Linked DNA regions of Homo sapiens: all the other regions are linked to region 1. Evidence: promoter capture Hi-C in 16 types of primary human blood cells and fetal thymus (Javierre and others, 2016). All regions are on one chromosome and are shown on one strand. Each heading gives the region's core, a stretch centred on a gene start or on the middle of the fragment in contact. The rest is flanking DNA. Distances are from core to core; before and after follow the strand shown.

The links. Contacts are between HindIII fragments. The CHiCAGO score rates a contact against its expected background, and 5 or more counts as called.
Region 2: a fragment that was not itself captured here is called in contact with the fragment with the promoter of RRM2 in region 1 in 1 of 17 cell types (fetal thymus); the score reaches 7.2 in fetal thymus.
Region 3: a contact is called between a fragment that was not itself captured here and the fragment with the promoter of RRM2 in region 1, in 1 of 17 cell types (naive CD8 T cells). The highest score is 6.0, in naive CD8 T cells.
Region 4: a contact is called between a fragment that was not itself captured here and the fragment with the promoter of RRM2 in region 1, in 2 of 17 cell types (total CD8 T cells and naive CD8 T cells). The highest score is 6.5, in total CD8 T cells.
Region 5: a contact is called between a fragment that was not itself captured here and the fragment with the promoter of RRM2 in region 1, in 7 of 17 cell types (endothelial precursors, naive B cells, total CD8 T cells and 4 more). The highest score is 8.9, in endothelial precursors.
Region 6: a fragment that was not itself captured here is called in contact with the fragment with the promoter of RRM2 in region 1 in 3 of 17 cell types (naive B cells, naive CD8 T cells and total B cells); the score reaches 5.7 in naive B cells.
Region 7: a fragment that was not itself captured here is called in contact with the fragment with the promoter of RRM2 in region 1 in 17 of 17 cell types (naive B cells, total B cells, non-activated CD4 T cells and 14 more); the score reaches 34.2 in naive B cells.

The regions. Positions count from the first base shown.
Region 1 is chr2:10,121,486-10,124,185 of GRCh38, reverse strand. It overlaps RRM2 (ribonucleotide reductase regulatory subunit M2), which reads right to left and starts at 1,447. Exons shown (of 10, transcript NM_001034.4): 1 at 1,289-1,447; 2 at 1,129-1,203; 3 at 656-799; 4 at 334-450. The coding sequence starts at 1,387. RefSeq lists silencers at 1,486-1,986, 1,393-1,992 and enhancers at 2,213-2,322, 2,343-2,412, 2,170-2,700. The HindIII fragment of the contact is 3,317 bases long and covers 1-2,700 here.
Region 2 is chr2:10,479,937-10,482,636 of GRCh38, reverse strand. No RefSeq gene overlaps it. Among named protein-coding and RNA genes, the nearest start is that of ODC1-DT, 32 kb to the right of the region's middle. The HindIII fragment of the contact is 7,342 bases long and covers 1-2,700 here.
Region 3 is chr2:10,496,305-10,499,004 of GRCh38, reverse strand. No RefSeq gene overlaps it. Among named protein-coding and RNA genes, the nearest start is that of ODC1-DT, 48 kb to the right of the region's middle. RefSeq lists an enhancer at 920-1,452. The HindIII fragment of the contact is 4,692 bases long and covers 1-2,700 here.
Region 4 is chr2:10,537,350-10,540,049 of GRCh38, reverse strand. The region is part of intron 2 of LOC105373426 (a long non-coding RNA gene); the gene reads left to right. Among named protein-coding and RNA genes, the nearest start is that of ODC1-DT, 89 kb to the right of the region's middle. RefSeq lists an enhancer at 1-349. The HindIII fragment of the contact is 3,470 bases long and covers 1-2,700 here.
Region 5 is chr2:10,614,795-10,617,494 of GRCh38, reverse strand. The region is part of intron 13 of NOL10 (nucleolar protein 10); the gene reads left to right. Among named protein-coding and RNA genes, the nearest start is that of NOL10, 74 kb to the left of the region's middle. The HindIII fragment of the contact is 5,417 bases long and covers 1-2,700 here.
Region 6 is chr2:10,515,597-10,518,296 of GRCh38, reverse strand. No RefSeq gene overlaps it. Among named protein-coding and RNA genes, the nearest start is that of ODC1-DT, 67 kb to the right of the region's middle. The HindIII fragment of the contact is 1,186 bases long and covers 833-2,018 here.
Region 7 is chr2:10,441,645-10,444,344 of GRCh38, reverse strand. ODC1 (ornithine decarboxylase 1) reads left to right here. Exons shown (of 12, transcript NM_002539.3): 5 at 78-250; 6 at 509-643; 7 at 774-855; 8 at 1,032-1,115; 9 at 2,171-2,333; 10 at 2,416-2,528; 11 at 2,622-2,700. Among named protein-coding and RNA genes, the nearest start is that of SNORA80B, 3.9 kb to the left of the region's middle. The HindIII fragment of the contact is 5,104 bases long and covers 1-2,700 here.

The sequences.
Region 1 (2,700 bases), core at 198-2,697:
TGCAGTGAGCCAAGATCACACCACTGCACTCCAGCCTGGGCCAGAGTGAGACTCTGTCTCAAAAAAAAAAAAAAAAAGAGGGGGCAGATGTGGTGGCCACAAAGAGTCATCACATTGCTACCACTTAATATTGTCTCAGCTTCTCTAGAGTCGGGAAAATACCATAAGAAAGAACTGCAAAGTGTTACAAAACAGGAAATGCCATGTAATATAAAACCCAGCTTACACACACAGATGCACTCAGCATGGAAAAACATACAAGACGAGGAAAGCGAACTAGTTCGACCTCAGATCGTCAACGTCAAATGAATGAAAGATGTTTTGGAAACTCACCAAGTTTTCATTTACTATGCCATCGCTTGCTGCAAAGAAAGCCAGAACATGGGATATAAAATATCTCTCCTCGGGTTTCAGGGATTCCCAGTGCTGAATGTCCTTGGAGAGGTCCACCTGAGGTTCGGAAGTCACAATTTTAGCATAAAAGGAAGAGAGTAAAGCCTACAGGACTCACACTGAGCACTCAAACTTTAAGTATGCTGGCACCACTTACTATGCCCCACAGTTAGCCCCCCTTGCCAACGGGAACCTCCAAGTGCATTTATGTCTGAGGCGTGACGGTCACCCCTGCAGGGGTCTTCTGGGGTCCTCCGATTACCTCCTCGGCGGTCCAAAAGGAAGCCTCTGCCTTCTTATACATCTGCCAGATATCATGGTACTCGATGGGGAAGATGACAAAGCGGCGGGGGTTTTCTCTCAGCAGCGGCTCATCCTCCACGCCGGGGGCAGCTGCTTTAGTTTTCTGTTGGGGGAGAAAATAAAACATTTAAGTACCGGGCGAACCATATGAAACTAACGTTTTTCTGGACCAAGTCCTTTCCATTGGCGGCAATTTCACGGGGCCCGATGTGAAAACGTGGCTGTCCCGTCGCACTCCGTGGGTCGCAGCAGAGGAGCGCACGCCCGAACCGGGAAATGGGCCGAGGGGCGCGGGAGGCAGCCCTGGGGAGGGGCCGCCTAGGCGGGAAAGGAGCCGGGGCGGGAGTGTGAACAGCTGAGGAAACAATGCGGCTTTGGCGCCAAGACGCCCAAGGCCGTCCCTGGCCCCTCTGCCCCACGCCCGCCACTCACCGGCTCCGTGGGCTCCTGGAAGATCCTCCTCGCGGTCTTGCTGGCCAGGACGCGGGTCCCGCTCAGGGCCGGCGGCTGCGGGGAGACGCGTGTGAGTGAGGAGCGGCTTCGCTTTCCCTGCCTCCCTCCCCTGCCCGCAGCGCCCTCCCCGCGGGCTCACCGTGTTCTCCTTGTCGACCAAGCTGAGCCCCTTCAGCGGCGAGAGCTGCAGCTGCTGCGGGTCCGTGATGGGCGCGAGCGGGACACGGAGGGAGAGCATAGTGGAGGCGCAGCGAAGCAGAGCGAGCAGCCAGGACAGGACGGCTGGGACAGGGTGCACGGGCGACCCCTCACTCCAGCAGCCTTTAAATCTCCCGCGCCGCGCGCTCCCGGCCCTTCCCATTGGCTTTGGTGCCCCGGCCCTTCCCATTGGCTGTGCCATGCCTCCGACCCTTCCCATTGGCTGCGCCTTGCCCCTACCCAGGCTGGCCGCGGGGCCGCGCGCGATTTTCAAGCGCAGCGCGGGAGCCTCCGCCGGCGCCTTCCGGAGACCCCCGGGGACACCCCCGTGGACGCCCCCCGGGACCTCCCGGTTCCCCCCCCGGCCCGTCCGCTGGCTGGGTCGGGGGCGCCGCCGCCCAGGCCCCCACAGGTCCCGCGGGACCAGGGCCGCAGCCCCTGAGGGTCTCGGCGGCCTTGGCGCGCGCGGGCCCCGGTTCGCCCGGGAACCGTTTAGGATTGCGTGAGGAGCAGCGATTGGAGCCCGCGGGCGCGAGAGGATCCCCGGGCCGCGGCCCCGCCTCCCGAAAGCACCTCCTCCCAGCCGGGCCGCCGCCGGGCAGGGGGCTTAGCCAACGAGGTTGGTGCAAAGGCCTGGAAAACGCTCCTGGGTGCGGGGGAGGCGTTGCTGCGACCCTTTCGATCCGTGTCCCTGCGGTGGGGGTGCAAGGGCCCCGAGGCCTGACATTTTGGCGGGGTGGTCGGCGAGGACCCTACAGCCTAAAAGTTAGGGCCGCTGAGCCCCGTGGCTCGTTTTGCTGGGACAAGCGACCAGGCTTCTTACAGATTCGGTGTCCCCGTGAGTAAAATGGGACTCGTAACCGCGTGGACTGTTAATGCGGTGAGGAGAGCGTTCGTTGAGATGACTCATGTAAAATGTGCAGTCCTTTGTAAACCTTCAAACTACGGGACATGGCGAGAAGGCCCTTGGTGCAGTTTTCCACAGAAATCCTGTCTCCTGTCAGACCCCTGACCCCTATTGTCACCCTTGCCTTAAGAATTGCAAACTGTGGCTGGGCGCGGTGGCTCACGCCTGTAATCCCAGCACTTTGGGAGGCCAAGGCAGGAGGATTGTTTGAGGCCAGGAGCTGGAGACCATCCTGGGCAACATAGTGAGACCCCGCCTCTGCCATTAAAAAGAGAAGAAAAAAAGTTGTTTTAATTGCAAACTGAGCAAAAATTCCTGGGAGAAAGTTCACAGAATGATTTTAGGACTAGGAATTAATGTACTACTCATTGGGCGTCAAATATGCTGAAGAGGAGTTTGAAAACTCCACTGGTGTAGAGACTGGAACTTAGCAATAGCTTTCATTT
Region 2 (2,700 bases), core at 15-2,514, 360 kb before region 1:
TGGGGGGCGTTAGAGGGCGGGGCGTGTGCCCACAGAGGGCATGGAAGCTCCACACCTCTTCCCACAGGCGTGTGTCACGCATCCTTTCCCTCTGGCTGCTCACCTGTATCACCTGTGACACCCTTTATAATAAATCAGTAAATGTAAGCATTTCCCTGAGATCTGTGAGCCATCCTAGCAAATTAGTCAAACCTGAGGAGGGGGACTGTGGAACCCCCAATGTACAGCCAGTCAGTCAGGAACACGAGTCATACACCAGGGCTTGTGATTGGCGTCTGAAGAGGGGACAGCCTTGTGGGACGGAGCCCTTCGCCTGTGGGATCCGACGCTACCTCCAGGCGACAGTGTCAGAACTGAGTGGCATTATAGAAACCCAGTTGGGGTCTGTTGAAGAATTGCTTGGTGTGTGGGAAAAAAAAAACTCACACATCTGGTGTCAGAAGAGTGGTGTTGAGTGTATAAGAAAGGCACTTCAGGTTTCCTATCCTTACATCCTCCCTCATATGAGTGATGGAATACCGTGTTCCACTACCTGCCCTGGCACAAGCCCTTTCCTGGAGAGCTTCCCCATAATGCCTCCTGCCCAAAGTGCCCACCGGCATCAGGTAGCTCATCACGGCAGCTGAGCTGGGCCAACTGGGTTCAGGGTGCGTGTCAGTCAAGGAGACCCAAGGGCCAGTCATTTGGTAATGGTGAGCTCTTGCGCTGAATGGCCACGTGGAGTTAGGGCTGAGGCAGCAAGATTGCTGAGAGTGGCCTAAGAGAAGGGGCAGTGGTGCTGTTGACAGCCACCATGCATCCCCGGAGAGAGACAAAGAGAATGGCTCCGTAACCCCGCCAGCTCCCCAGCCCCCAGCTTCAGTTCCATGACTGGGCTTTGTTCCTATGAGCTTGCCCTGTGCCCCAGTTATCTATTGGTAGGTTACAAATACTCCCAAAACTCAGTGGCTTCCGACAGTTGTCATGTTCACTCATGATTCTGTGTGTTAGTGATGTGAGCTGGGCTCAGTGGCATCTTCCTTCTGGGCTGAGCTGAACTTGGCTGCTCTAGGCTTGGCGTCACTCACCTGTTTGGGGTCTGCGTCTATGTGGTCTCTCATCCTCCAACAGGGGGGCTGGAAGGAAAGGGAGGAGCTCACCTGTGCACAAAAGCATCAGATCAATAAGGGCCAGGCAAGTCAACAACTCAGGCCACAGGTCACAGGTCTTCAGTGAGCTGGGGAAGACTGCATGGGATGAGTGTGTTGTGCCCAGGAGCCCTTGTCCCTCTTCCTATTTGGGCTAATGATTGACAACCTGACTTCCGTGCCCAGGGTGGTCAAGATTCCCCTGTGACCCCTGGAGAGTGAAGGGCCATGTGCCTCTGATGTGTCCCTCCTCAAAGAGGCACAGATCTTTTCTGGTGCTGAATAACAGCAGTACCAATGAAGATGCAGGCCTGGTGTGGGGGTTCCCACTGAAGATCCCAGCACTTCAAGAGGCCAAGGTGGGAGAATCACTAGAGGCCAGGAGACCAGCCTGGGCAACATAGTGAGACCCTGTCTCAAGAATGAACAAACCAAAGAAAGAAGGAAAGAAAAGAAGGAAGGGACAGAAAGAAAATAAATTAGCCAGGCATGGAGGATTACTAGAGACTAGGAGACTAGGCTGGGCAACACAGTGAGACCCTGTCTCTACAAAAGAAAGAAAGAGAGAAAGAGAGAGAGAGAAAGAAAGAAAGGGAGAAAGAGAGAGAGGGAGGGAGGGTGGAGGGAGGGAAAGAGAGAGAGAAGGAAGGAAGGAAGGAGAGAGAGAAAAAGAAAGAAAGAGAGAGAGAGAGAAAAGACAGAAAGAGAGAAGGAGAAAAAGAAAGAAAGAGAGAGGAAGAGAGAAAGAAATAAAGGTAGAAAAAGAAAGAGAAGGAAAGAAGGAGAAAGAGAAAAAAAGAAAGAGAAAGAGAGATAAAGAGAGAAAGAAAGAAAGAGAAAGAGATAAAGAAAGGACGGAAGGAAGGAGAGAGAAAGAAAGAGAGAAAGAGAGAGAAAGGAAGAAAGGAAGGAAGGAAGGAGAGAAAAAGAGAGAAAAGAAAGAGAGAAAGAAAGAAAGAGATGGAAGGAAAGAGAAAGAAAGAGAAAGAAAGGAGAGAGAGAGAAAAGAAAGGGAGAAAGAAAGAGGAAGAAAGGAAGGAAGGAAGAAAGGAAGGAGAGAGAGAGAAAGAAAAAGAAAGAAACGGAGAAAGGAAGAAAAGAGGGAGAAAGAGAGAGAAAGGAAGGAAGGAGAAAGAGAAAGAAAGAGAGAGGGAGGGAGGGAAGGAAGAAAGGAAGGAAGGAAAGAGAGAGAAAGAGGAAGGAAGGAAGGAAGGGAGGGAGGGAAAAAGAAGAGAAGAGAAGAGAAAAGAAAAGAAAAGAAAAGAAAAGAAAACTAGCCAGGCATGATAGCATGCACCTATAGTCTCAGCTATTCAGGAGGCTGAGGTGGGAGTATTGTTTGAGCCCAGGAGTTCAAGGTTTCAGTGAGCTATGATCACACCACTGCACTTCAGCCTGAGTGACAGAATGAAACCCTGTCTCAAAATAATAATACAAATGTAATAATAATGCAGATGCCTCTATAGTCTGCTCTGTGCCGTGCATCGCACCACTTAGATATGTGGGCCACTGGGGCCCCATCTCAGCTCTGGGCTTACAAGCTCTGTCATGGCCCCGGCCAATGAACACTTCA
Region 3 (2,700 bases), core at 108-2,607, 370 kb before region 1:
ATCCAGCCTTGCTTGGGGGAGTCAAATGGTCTGTTTGAGCCTCAGTTTCCTTACCTGTAAAACAAGGATAATAACAGTGGAGGGACCAAGGAAGTGCTCAGAAATATTTGGGGTTTTTTTGTTTGTTTTTCTTGTTTTGAGATGGAGTCTCTCTTGGTTGCCCAGGCTGGAGTACAGTGGCAAGATCTCGGCTCACTGCAACCTCTGCTTCCGGAATTCAAGTGATTCTCCTGCCTCAGCCTCCTGAATAGCTGGGATTACAAGCATGTGCCACCACGCCCGGTTAAGTTTTGTATGTTTGGTAGAGATGAGGTTTCACCATGTTGGCCAGGCTGGTCCCGAACTCCTGACCTCAAGTGATTCTCCCACCTCAGCCTCCCAAAGTGCTGGGATTACACTCATGAGCCACCATGCCTGGCCAGAAGTGCTTAGAAATATTTGAATGAATGGATGAATGAATGAATGATGCCCATCTTACTGGGCTGTCATGAGACTTAACACTGCACCTGCGACCCCATAGGTACTCAACAAAGGATCACTTTCTCATTTTACCTCCTTCTCCTTCTTAGGTCAAAAGAAGCAACTCCTGCTGCATTTGCCCTTCCTCAGGCACTGGGGACCTGGGTCTGTCTTGAATTTCCTTCTCTCTCTACACCAAGCTCTATGCCAGGAGCATCCACTGCAGTACACGCGCCCCCCACTCGTCCCCCCTAGGTCCAAGGTGAAGATGAAGGGCAGGTGACTGCGCGTGGAGGTCGAGGAGTGGCTGGTGGGCCTCTGGACCTGGCCGGCTGTCTTGGCCGTGGGCTGGGGGAGGAGCTGTGCTGTCTCCATGCCCCTCCCGCAGCAGAGGCGATTCAAAGCCATGACAGAGGAGGAGAGTGAGTCGCCTGCCACCCAGCAGCTGCAGCAGGCCTGTTACATCACAGCCCACACACCCGGCTGCCTGTCACCCACCCAGACAACGCCCCGGCCCGGCCCCGGCACGGCCCGTGTGCGCGGTGACTCATTGTTGCCGCCTCTTCCAAACAGCTGGCGGGCCCTGTCTTGCCGTGGCCGGCTGGCACCTTGGGCTCCTGTTCTTAGCAGGATCATTGCAGGGAATGTGGTGTGCACAGCCTCACCGTCTCCCAAAGTGAGGTGGCCCAGGGTGCTCGGCATCCACGGGCTCCTACGACCAGCGCCAGGTGCCCAAGATCAGCCTCAGACCGTCACTGGTTAAATGACACCTGCGGGCCGTGCAGTTAAACAGCTCTGCCACCTACTAGCAGAGACTCTGGACACATTTCCTAGTGTCTGAGCCTCAGTTTTAGCTGCTGTAAAATGGGAATAATAATGACACCTACTTCTGGCAGTGTCTTAAGATAATGCTTATGAAGCCCTCAGTGCCACATGCTTGATGCAGAATAAGAAATTAATAATAAAATAGTGCAATCGCTTTCGTAATGTTGGACTGTTCTATGTTTTTATTTATTTCTTTCTTATTTAGTAGAGACAGGGTCTCACTACATTGTCCTAGCTGATCTCGAACTCCCGGGTTCAAGTGATCCTCCTGCCTCAGCCTCCCAAAGTGCTGGGATTACAGGTGTGAGCTACCACACCCAGCCCTGTTCTTTTCATTTACTAGTGGTCAAAGCCACTGCCAATGCTCTTTGCAATGATACATGGCAGCATGGAGAAGAGAAAGAAACAGCATAATCTTTGAAGTATAAACATACTAAATGAGTTGAGGATCACCGGTTGGGGGATTACTGGTGGGAAAGATGAAACAAAAGTGGCAAAGCGTGAAGGTTATTAAAGCTGGGTGGGAAGCATGCGGGTTCATTATACTATTTGCTCTTTGTTTGTGTTTACTGTTTACGTTGTGTACGTTTGACATTTCCATAACAAAACAGTTAAATAAAATCATGGTGTCTGCGAGGCAGACCGATTGACTCTGGACATGCCCTCACTCACTGGCCAAAGTGGGGCAGGTTTCACAGCAATCTTAATGAGGACTTATTCTCTGCCAGGCTGGGAAATCAAAACTGAGGGCAAGGGGGGGCCCAGCCCTGCACAATGCTTCCGGTTCAATGTGAGGGGGATGCATAACATCTCTTTTGGAGATAAGCTCAAAAGAGGGGTCTTCCGAGAGGGAGGGTGTCTGCATGGTCTGAAGCCAAGGTCAGGGCAGGCAAGCATAGAGGCAGGAGGGACATTTCAGAGTGGAGCCCCCTGGCACTTGCACACGGCCTGAGAAGTTCTGGACTCAGGGTGCCGTGTGACGCCAGAGGTGGCAGATGACAAAGGTGGGTGGGTGGCAGGTGGCAGGTAGCAGGTGGTAGTAATGCCAGCCTATGTAGCTAGGCATTCACTTGGGGGCTGAGAAAGAGCCCCAGGAGGCTCAAACAGGTGACAGAATGGCTTGCGGTCAGACTCGTGCTTTAGTAAGTTCATTTTGTCGGGCGCGGTGGCTCACGCCTATAATCCCAGCACTTTGGGAGGCCGAGGCAGGTGGATTGCCTGAGGTCAGGAGTTTGACCGGCCTGGCCAACACGGTGAAACCCTGTTTCTACTAAAAAAAAATACAAAAATTAGCTGGGCGTGGTGGCAGGTGCCTGTAATCCCAGCTGCTCAGGAGGCTGAGGCAGGAGAATTGCTTGAACCTGGGAGGCGGAGTTTGCAGTGAGCCGAGATCATGCCATTACACTCTGGCCTGGG
Region 4 (2,700 bases), core at 100-2,599, 420 kb before region 1:
CTGACACTATCTACCTGGAGTTAGCATCAGACTCCACAGTTGAAGGGCTCAGTTCCACAAGACAGCCTCATTCAGATCCCAGCCACAAATGGGGTCCTCAGCCGACCTACACTTCTGCCCAGCTGACTTCGAATTCAGGAGTCCCCACCCCCAACCCTCAGGTTCGCTAATTCGCCAGAACGCCTCTCTGAACTAAGGGAAGTGTTCCCCTTGCCATTCCAGTTTATACAGGATACAAACAAGCCGTCCAGTGAAGAGGCACATGGAGAGTGCCAGAAGGGGCCAAGTCATGGCAGCCTGCGTCCCGGTGGAGCTGGGACGTGCTGCCCTGTTGGCGTGCGGATGCGTTCACTAACTTGGAATCTCCTCGAACCCCATCACTTAGGGGTTTTCAGCGGAGGCTTCACTATGCAGGCAAGACAGAGGAAGTCACTGGCCATTAGTGACAACTCACTCTCCAGCCCCTCTCTCCTTCCTGGAGGTGGGGGGTGGGGTGCTGAAAGTTCCAACCGAGGCTTGGTCTTGCTGGTGTCCAGCCCCACCCGGAAACTGTCTCAGTGCCCCATTTCCCCAAGACCCATCATTCATTAGCGTAAAGAAGACAGTTCAGTCACTCAAGAGAGTCCAAGTGTTTGAGGAGTTCTGTGTCAGGAGCCGGAGACAAAGATCAGAATTTTTGTTAAACCACACCTGTTGTTCACTGGGGCTTGTATGTTAGGATTATTTTCAATTTTAGGACTTTTTTTCTTTTTTGCTATGTTTTTTTTTGAAGCACTTCTCCATTTTAGAACAGTTACTTTGATTAAAATCTGATAATATAATCTATATATCCATAATGAATCCACCTAACTGGGCAAATGTTTCATGATCCTAAGAAGAGACAAATATGGGCAAGAGCACCTCTGTATTTTTTCTTTTTTAACAGGGTCTCACTCTGTCACCTAGGCTAGAGTGTAGTGGTAAGATCATGGCTCACTGTAGCCTCCGCCTCCTGGGCTCAGTGATCCTCCTGCCTCAGCCTCCCAAGTAGCTGGGACTATAGCACATGCTACCACACCTGGGTAATTAATTTTTTTTTTTTTTTTTTTTTTGTAGAAATGGGAGTCTTGCCATGTTGCTCAGGCTGGTCTGAAACTCCTGGGCTCAAGCAATCCTCCCACCTTGGCCTCCCAAAATGTTGGGACTACAAGTGTGAGGCAATGCACCCAGTCTCCCCTGTATTTTGTGTGCAGAAGTAACCTTCTGACTTACCTGCCAAGCAGGGACTAGTACCAATCTGAGTGATAAATATTTGTCAATCTTACTCTCTTAGGAAACAGAGTCATCAACATTTCTTGAGGTAGGGTGACTCATTCTTCCATGCATCCCACAGACATGCGTCAAGAGCTTACTGGGTTCTAGGAGGTGTGGTGGGTGCTGAAGCCACCAGATTGAATGCTAGGCCCTTGCCAAAACCAGGATAATCCTGGGCACACCGGGACAGCAGCCCCAACTCCATCCTGAGGAATGAAGAAATGATGCCACCCTCCATTCTGAAAAACCACATTCCCCCACGCTCCAGCTCTCCTGCATGCTCCAAACATGCTGCTTACAGGCGTGAGCCACTCAGCCTGGCTCAGCTCTTTTTTGATTGTTTTTGTTTTGAGACGGAGTTTCGCTCTTGTTGCCCAGGCTGGAGTGCAATGTTGTGATCTCGGCTCACTGCAACCTCCGCCTCTCAGGTTCAAGTGATTCTCCTGCCTCAGCCTCCCTAGTAACTGGGATTACAGGCGCCCGCCACCATGCCCGGCTAATTTTTTTGTATTTTTAGCAGAGACAGGTTTTCCCCATGTTGGCCAGGCTGATCTTGAACTCCTGACCTCAGGCAATCCACCCGCCTTGGCCTCTCAAAGTGTTGGGATTACAGGGGTGAGCCACTGCGCCTGGTCCCCAGCTCTGTTTTTAATAGCCAAAGAATAGTCAGACAGGAGGCGACTCTCTATCCAAGTCCCAGGGGATATCGATGCCAAATATAAAATGCCACCCCAACAGCCGACGACGGGGCTGGCGGGCAGGCTCGAGGCCTGGCTCTGCAGCATCGCTCAGTGGGGCAAACACCTGCTCTGGGAGCAGGCCAGGTCCCACATGGGAAGGATGCGTGCAGAAGACGACAGTCATGGGAAACAGAAAGGGCAATCAGGCGTCTGTCTGTGAAACGCAGCACCGGGTAGGTGGCTCTGTGTGGCTCTGGAAACTTGGAATATCATAGCGCCCTTTGTGTGCTCAGATGGTGGTTTCTCAAAGCACTCACCAGAAAGCCCACATCCTTCCGCTGAGGTTTAAGGTCCAGGGAGAGTGTTCCTGGTACCGAGTACCATAACCCAGGTTTTATGTGCGACTTCCCCCTGCATCTGTCTGCCAGGCGCCACCGGCCTCTAGTGCACCATGGTGGGGAGCAAAGCCCTTCCATCTCTGAGCTGCTCTGATGTCCACACCAGTCTTAATCTCAGTAGCCCTAAGCCACTGGTGTTGGTTTTGTACTCTGGGGTTTCATTCTAGAAGCCAGATCCTCCTTTTTTTTTTTTTTTTTTTGAGACAGAGTCTCACTCTCTCCCCCAGGCTGGAGTGCAGTGGCGCCATCTTGGCTCACTACAACCTCTGCCTCCTGGGTTCAAGCGATTCTCCTGCCTCAGCCTCCCAAGTAGCTGGGATTACAGGCAC
Region 5 (2,700 bases), core at 1-2,500, 490 kb before region 1:
GGTTGTTTGTTTAGTGACTGTCCTGGACTAATTCTATAAAATCTGATTTCTTTCTAACGTGTGACCACTGAAGTCTCTGCTCGTTGCCGAACTGTCAGCTAATGAATAAACAGAGATTTCCTTCAATGCCCGGAACCAGTCAGTCGCCCAGCCTCTGCCAGAGTGATCCTCATGAATGCCCCTGCTCACCATTGCTCTCTCTATTCAAGCCACACTGGGCTGGTCTTTTTACTGATCCACAAACATGCCAAGCAATTCCAACCTCTAGGCCTTTGTAGTTGTCAGGTAGTCTTGAGGGTCACTCCCTCCTGCCCCTTGGGTCCCTGTCCATCATCTCCCCTTCCCCTCTATTCTTCATTGCCTTCTCTCCTTCAGTTTCCACAGCACCAGTCTCTGTCTGTCATACTCTCCACTGCCTCTCCCTTGTTTGTAGTTTCCCCTTTCTGGAAGGTAAGCTCCTTGAGGGTGGGGATTGTTCTGTGTTTTGTCACTGAGTATCTAGAGAGAAGGGAAAGTGCCTGCCTCTTTGTTGAATAAGTGAATGGGGAGGTAACTCTTTGTTGAATAAGTGAATGGGGAGGTAACTCTTTGTTGAATAAGTGAATGGGGAGGGAGCTTAGGCAACCTGTTCTTATTTAAGAATGAGGGCCAGACGTGGTGTCTCACTCCTGTAATCCCAGCACTTTGGGAGGCCGAGGCCAGTGGATCACTATAGCTCAGGAGTTCAAGACCAGCCTGGGCAACATGGCGAAACTACATCTCTACAAAAGATACAAAAATTAGCTGGGCATGGTGGCACACACCTGTAGTCCCAGCTACTTGAAGGGCTGAGGTGGGAGGATTGCTTGAACCTGGGAGGTTGAGGTGGCGGTGAGCTGAGATCGCACCACTGCACTCTAGTCTGGGTGATAAAGTGAGACCCTGTTTCAAAAAAACAAAAAAAAATGAAGAATGAGGTGCTAAAATGCCAACTGGGGCCAGACACGGTGGCTCATGCCTGTACTCCCAGCACTTTGGGAGGCCAAGGCGGGCGGATCACCTGAGGCCAGGAATTTGAGAATAGCCTGGCCAACATGGTGAAACCCCGTCTCTACTAAAAATACAAAAATTAGCCAGGCGTAGTGGCACACGCCTGTAATCCCAGCTACTTGGCAGGCTGAGGCACAAGAATCCAGGAGGCAGAGGTTGCAGTGAGCCGAGATCGCACCACTGCACTCCAACCTGGGTGACAGAGCAAGACTCTGCCTCAAAAAAAAAAAAAAAAAAAAAAAAAAAAATGCAGGGTGGTGTTGTCCACTGGTAGTTTTCATGTGGACCCTTCAGCTAATGACTCTACCCAGATATCAATATCTTAAAGTCTGTCTTCTGGGACCTTTCATTTACTCCAGAGAAGAATCCCCCAGTTTTGTTCTGAGGTGTTAGGGGTTTGGGCTGGTAGAGTGGACGCACAGCAGCATAGGCTTGACTTTGGCATTCCAGGGGCTGGGAAAAGGAGGCGAGGGTCCCACAGTTTGATGTCTAGACTGCCATTAATTGTCCTGACTTTAGCCCCACAGCTCAAGTCACCTGTGCCTGGTGGCATACTCCCCACCCACCCCGCACATAGGGCAGCTTTGGTTCCCCTCCTCCAGAGAATTATCTTCTGGTCTCTTTAGGCATGGTGGGGATTTGGGTGTTCATCAGCTCCATTGTTCCCCCTTTATTCGGGCCTGTGCCTCATCCTGTCGTCCCCCATGCTTAGAGCCTTGAAGTTCTTGTCCCAAGGATTCTGAGAGAGGAATCTTTTCTCTTTGCTGTTCACCTCTGTAAGCTCTCATGTTTACCCGGTTAAGTTTCTTAAATTACTGCATCTTCTTCTTCAGTTCTTTTTGTCCTTAAAGGTTAATACCTTTTAAAAGTTATTTACTGTCATTTTAAAAAGGCTTGACAGCGATGGGGGTACCACTATTAACCAAAAGCTCTCTGTGTTTCTTAACATCAGTTTTAATTTGGTGTTTAAATGTTTGCTTGGGGCGTCCTGTCTCTGCTAGCCCTTGACTGAAGGCACTCTGTCATGTGTATCTCTACTCATAGTGTCACAAAAATTGACTATTGCTTGATGGGCTATTAGTGAGATAGTGGCTTAAGGAATCTTAACAATTTTTTTTTAACTTGGCCTTATTTTTCTTGTTATTTCATTTCAGTCCCTAAATTATCTTTTCAAATATTAAGTCATGGCAGGTAATAGTTTTTCTTTTTTAAAAATAAATCTTTTAAAATGTTGAAATTAAATTGCTTCTTTGCTAATCTGATTTTTAAGAACAAAACACTACAAGTAGAGTACATTTAAATGACTCATAATTACTCACACAAATGCATGTAAACTTGGATATGCAATTAGGCAGCTCATTATGCTGCAAATGCAATTACATGCTTAAGGTCATGGCCACTCCCTCTGGCTCACCCAGTGTTCTCTTGGGTTTATGATCATTTATTAAGCCTCAGCTGTCAGAATTTGAAAATACATGCTGCTGCTCCTAGTGAGGCCTTTCCAACAATAATGGAAGAAAAGCTGGAAAAGAAAATTTTCTTTTGAGTTTATATGCAGAGTTGGTTTTCTTAATTGGCAAAATCCCATTTTCCCACAGGAGATGCAGGCTAGGTAATTAGAAAAATTATCATTAATCATAATAGTGGTCAGTGATATTTATAGTATATCTA
Region 6 (2,700 bases), core at 176-2,675, 390 kb before region 1:
GTGTGTGTCGTGTGTGTGTGGTGTGTGTGTGTGGTGTGTGTGTAGTATATGTGTGTGGTGTGTGTGTAGTGTGTCTGTGTTGTGTGTTGTGTATGTGTATGTCGTGTGTGTGGTGTGTGTGTAGTATGTGTGTGGTGTATGTGTGTGTCCTGTGTGTGGTGTGTGGTGTATATGTGTGTGGTGTGTGTGTGCACGTGTGGTGTGTGTTCTGTCAGGAAACCTGTCCTTCCACTTTGAAGCCCACTTTCTGGAGGCTCCCAACAAGGCAGGCTTTTTCTGTATGTTGACTTTGTGCTGCTTTGCTGGAAAGTGGGCAGTGGGCACAGCAAGCTCCAAGCTCATGGCTCTGGGTTGCTTTCCACAGCCAGTCTCCCCTCTGCCTTTCCAGCATGCTCCTGACTGTGTCCAGTGTCCAAGGGGAGCACCGCGAATGGTCTGAACTGACCGTGACAGTCTGATTCCATTTTGCCACCTGTTCCTCAAGCCTTCCCACAGCCGGCAACAGGCATGTGACTGAGTCTTGGACAATGAGATACATTGTGAGGGGTCTGCTGGGAGGCCTTTGGGGAACCATTGGCCTCCCTATAAAAGGGACAGATGTGACTGGTGCTCTTTCCTCTTTTTCCTGTCTTAAACATGGACATAATGCCTAACATTATGGTGGCCATTATGTAACTATGAGGCGATAAGCATGAGGAAGCGTTAGAATCCCAGATAAGAAACATGCAAAGAGCTTTGACCCTCCCCTGCCCGCTAGGGCATTCCTGAGCAGGTGAACCAATACCACCAACTGTCTATCTTTAGACTTCTTGTTATGTAAGAAAAATAAGCTTCTATTTGTCACATTGCTACTACTTGTAGTGGAAAGCATTCCTAACTGATTCATCCTGTACATTTAAAACCGCTAAAATTCTCGAAAGTTGGTTTTGTAGTTTTTATGGCTTCAGGTTGTTTAACCTGAGCAAGAACCAACCATATCTGATGTAGCAAGAAGAATGTCATGTTTCATTTCAAGGAGACTTGTCTCCTTCCACAATTTTCCAAGATTTAGTGCACTGCCAATAGATTAATCACTGTGCTTAGAAGAAAATTCACCTGTCAGAATTTCAAGCCGAGAATCAGAATCCCAATCCCAGAATCCATGTAAGGCTGAGAACCAACCAGAAGATCTTTAGCCCATTATGCTAGAACTCTAAAGGGTTACACACCCAGGATTAGCATGAACCCGAAGTAAATTTTTGCATTCTCTCCCTCAAACCCCCCTTTAGAAATAACAAGGAAATGTTTCTTGGCACTGAGGAGAGCGGGAGAAAAGCTCATCTCTGTGAAGCTGTATCCAAACACTGACCCTTGTGCAGACTGGTACCCAAATTCACACCCCCTGAATGGCCCAGAAATTTTCCAGGAACAAATTCAGATGAAGGTGATCTTGGAGTGGAAGTGTCCCTAGGTGCATGGCAGATGCAAGTGCAAATTCTTTCAGGCAGATGTCACATTCATCCGAGATCTCAAAGAATTATCATCAAGTAATATCTCAAGAAAGTAAGCAGGCTGGCCATGGTGGCTTATGCCTGTAATCCTAGCATTTCGGGAGGCCGAGGCGGGTGGATCACGAGGTCAAGAGATTGAGACCATCCTGGCCAACATGGTGAAGCCCCCGTCTCTACTAAAAATACAAAAATTAGCTGGGTGTAGTGGAGCATGCCCGTAGTTTCAGCTACTCGGGAGGCTGAGGCAGGAGAATCGCTTGAACCCAGGAGGCGGAGGTTTCAGTGAGTCAAGATTGCGCCACTGCACTTCAGCCTGGTGATAGAGTGAGACTCCATCTCAAAAAAAAGAAAAAAGAAAAGAAAGCAAGCAGCACTTAGTGAAAAATAAGGAAGCACACAAGGAAATAAGGCAACATGAGCATGAATAAGCAGAAAAAACAAACAGCTAAACTACTCCCAAATATTTCATATAATGAAATAATAGGAAAGAAATTATACAATTGTTATGTTGAAAAAACAATACAAGCTTAAAGATATTTGCAGGAAACAGAGAACTATGAAAAAACTGATTTGGCAGGTTTTTCGAAAATCAAATAGATCTTTCTTATAAAAATGAAAAATATAATAACTGAAACTTTAAATTTAATAGGTGGATTTAATAGGAAATTAGATATAGGCAAAGAGAGAATTAGTGAACTGGAAGATGGGTCAGAAAAAATTATCCAAATGATAGCACAGAACAACAGAAAGATGAAAATCATGAAAAAGAGGAGGATAGAGTGAGAAGGTCTAAATACATTTAGGGGGTATTCCAGAAGGAGAAGCAAGGGAGATGGGGGCAAAATTATTATTTAAAGAGATAATGTCTGATAATTTTTTGGAATGAACCAAAAGATGTCAATCCATACATTAAAGAAGCTCAACAAATGCCAAGGACAAAAAATAAAAATAAAAGTGAAAAAAATGTTCGAACTGAGTGGCTATCACAAATCTGTCTCTTACTGGCAGGGTGACCCAATGGTGTGTCCAAGGGGCTGATATTACTCATCCAATCCTGGAACATGGAGCTCTGAGCTCTTGCAGGGGATGAGCAAAGCAAGTATAAGTGCAATAATGGGCTCTGTGAGGCCCACTCCTTCTGGCCTGATCTAGGTCTGTTGGTACCATAAACAGAATGATGGTGGAGGTACCAGCGCATTTTTAACCTCCT
Region 7 (2,700 bases), core at 114-2,613, 320 kb before region 1:
ACAACTTCCCATGCTTTTCTGTTTATTCCACGTGTTAAGCCACATATGGATAGCATGACACCACTCTTCTTTTTCAGACTGAAATACAGTTGGTGCAGAGTCTGGGGGTGCCTCCAGAGAGGATTATCTATGCAAATCCTTGTAAACAAGTATCTCAAATTAAGTATGCTGCTAATAATGGAGTCCAGATGATGACTTTTGATAGTGAAGTTGAGTTGATGAAAGTTGCCAGAGCACATCCCAAAGCAAAGTGAGTTATTCCCCCATCTGAGGGCAAGATCGGGAGCATAAGATATGTGGATTCTTATCAAACAAACTTAAATTTCTGATTATTATATTTCTATACTTTAGTAGAAAGTAGTTGAAACCCCCATTGAGTCATGAAGCCTGGGACTCAAACTACAGAATATATCAGCGACAGTATTTAGAACAGGATTGTTTTTATTTTAATTGTGGCTATAAGTGAACATCTATCATGAGACATTTGCTGCACTTTCCTTGCTTGTAGGTTGGTTTTGCGGATTGCCACTGATGATTCCAAAGCAGTCTGTCGTCTCAGTGTGAAATTCGGTGCCACGCTCAGAACCAGCAGGCTCCTTTTGGAACGGGCGAAAGAGCTAAATATCGATGTTGTTGGTGTCAGGTGAGATTTTGGTGGGATAGCTAGAGGTCAAGACATTGAACAGTTTGAGTTTTACAGGCTTTCTCCTAGTGTTTGCTATTATTTTAAGAAATACTAAGACACAGTGTCTCGTCTCTTTATTTTACCCCAGCTTCCATGTAGGAAGCGGCTGTACCGATCCTGAGACCTTCGTGCAGGCAATCTCTGATGCCCGCTGTGTTTTTGACATGGGGGTGAGTATACGTGACCCTGTTAGGGAAGGGCGGGACACAACTGACAATAACTAGTCTTAATTCTAGAGTTAACTTTTTATGGCAGTTGGTTCTGTATTACATGGGTTTCAGCCTATCTGCTGCATACATTTTTGTTATTAGCTGTGGATCTGGCTGACTTATTTTCTTGATTCTAGGCTGAGGTTGGTTTCAGCATGTATCTGCTTGATATTGGCGGTGGCTTTCCTGGATCTGAGGATGTGAAACTTAAATTTGAAGAGGTAATTTAGAACAAAACTGTAATACTCAGTAGCCGTTCTAATAAATTCCTTTTTGGAATATTTCAAAATTTAAGTGTCTTAACTAATACCACAATGGGCTGAAGTGTCTTGGTGTGATATTTTGAGTGATTTCTTTGTGCTGTCTGACATTACACTTGATACCATTTGGTTTTCTAAAGTGTGAATCAGCTTTCCCAGAAGTCTTGGATAATTGGTTACATTGGAAATCATGGCTCACACCTGTAATCCAGCACTTGGGGAGGCCAAGGTGGTAGGATCACTTGAGCCCAGGAGTTTGAGACCAGCCTGGGCAACACAGTGAGACCCCATCTCTACAAAAAAAATTTTAAAATTAGCCTGGTGTGGTGGCGGGCACCTGTAATCCCAGCTACTTGGAAGGCTGAGGTGGGAGGATCACTTGAGCCCAGGAGGTTGAGGCTGCAGTGAGCCATGATCATGCCACTGCACTCAGCCTGGGCTACAGAGTGAGACCCTGTCTCAAAAAAAAAAAAGAAAAAGCATGTTGCTGTGGGCTTCCTAGAGAATATGCTGACTGTAGCACATCATCACCCCAAATGTGCTTTGCTAGACCTATGCTTCCTCTCCTTAAAATACTTGAAATGTTTAGTCACTTAGGAAGTTAAGCCATTATATTGGTGCTTGAATTTATAAAATATATCCACATGGTTTGTTAAAATCATGACGTAGGCAGAATAGGATTTTTATCCTGTTGGCATGTATTTGTTAAAATGTTTTGACATCTTGATGCCTTCCTAGGTAGTAGTTAGTTGCGTACTGTTCTTTGATAAAAATCATACCCATAACATCCTAAAGGAGATAGGGTGCCTGGAGGGGAATGAAAACGAGCCACCTGGGATATGTAGCCTGGTTTTCAGGGAGATGTTGATGTTTTTTTGCTTTTGTTACTTTAATGATAAACCTGTCTGTTGATGCCTGGTCTCATGATGTCATGTCACAAGGCCCTGTGATGTTACTCCCCCATGTGAATTTCCCACAATGAAGGCTGCTCTTTCTTTTCTGTTTCACTCTCTTAGATCACCGGCGTAATCAACCCAGCGTTGGACAAATACTTTCCGTCAGACTCTGGAGTGAGAATCATAGCTGAGCCCGGCAGATACTATGTTGCATCAGCTTTCACGCTTGCAGTTAATATCATTGCCAAGAAAATTGTATTAAAGGAACAGACGGGCTCTGATGGTATGTATAAAGGACGAATCACTTCATGTATAACTGAAAGCTGATGCAAAAAGTCATTAAGATTGTTGATCTGCCTTTCTAGACGAAGATGAGTCGAGTGAGCAGACCTTTATGTATTATGTGAATGATGGCGTCTATGGATCATTTAATTGCATACTCTATGACCACGCACATGTAAAGCCCCTTCTGCAAAAGGTAATTTCTGAGCATACTGTATAAAACAATTAAGAGGACTGGTCACAACACGTGTAATTAAGTAGTACTTCCTCTCTCCGTCTCTTTATATAGAGACCTAAACCAGATGAGAAGTATTATTCATCCAGCATATGGGGACCAACATGTGATGGCCTCGATCGGATTGTTGAGC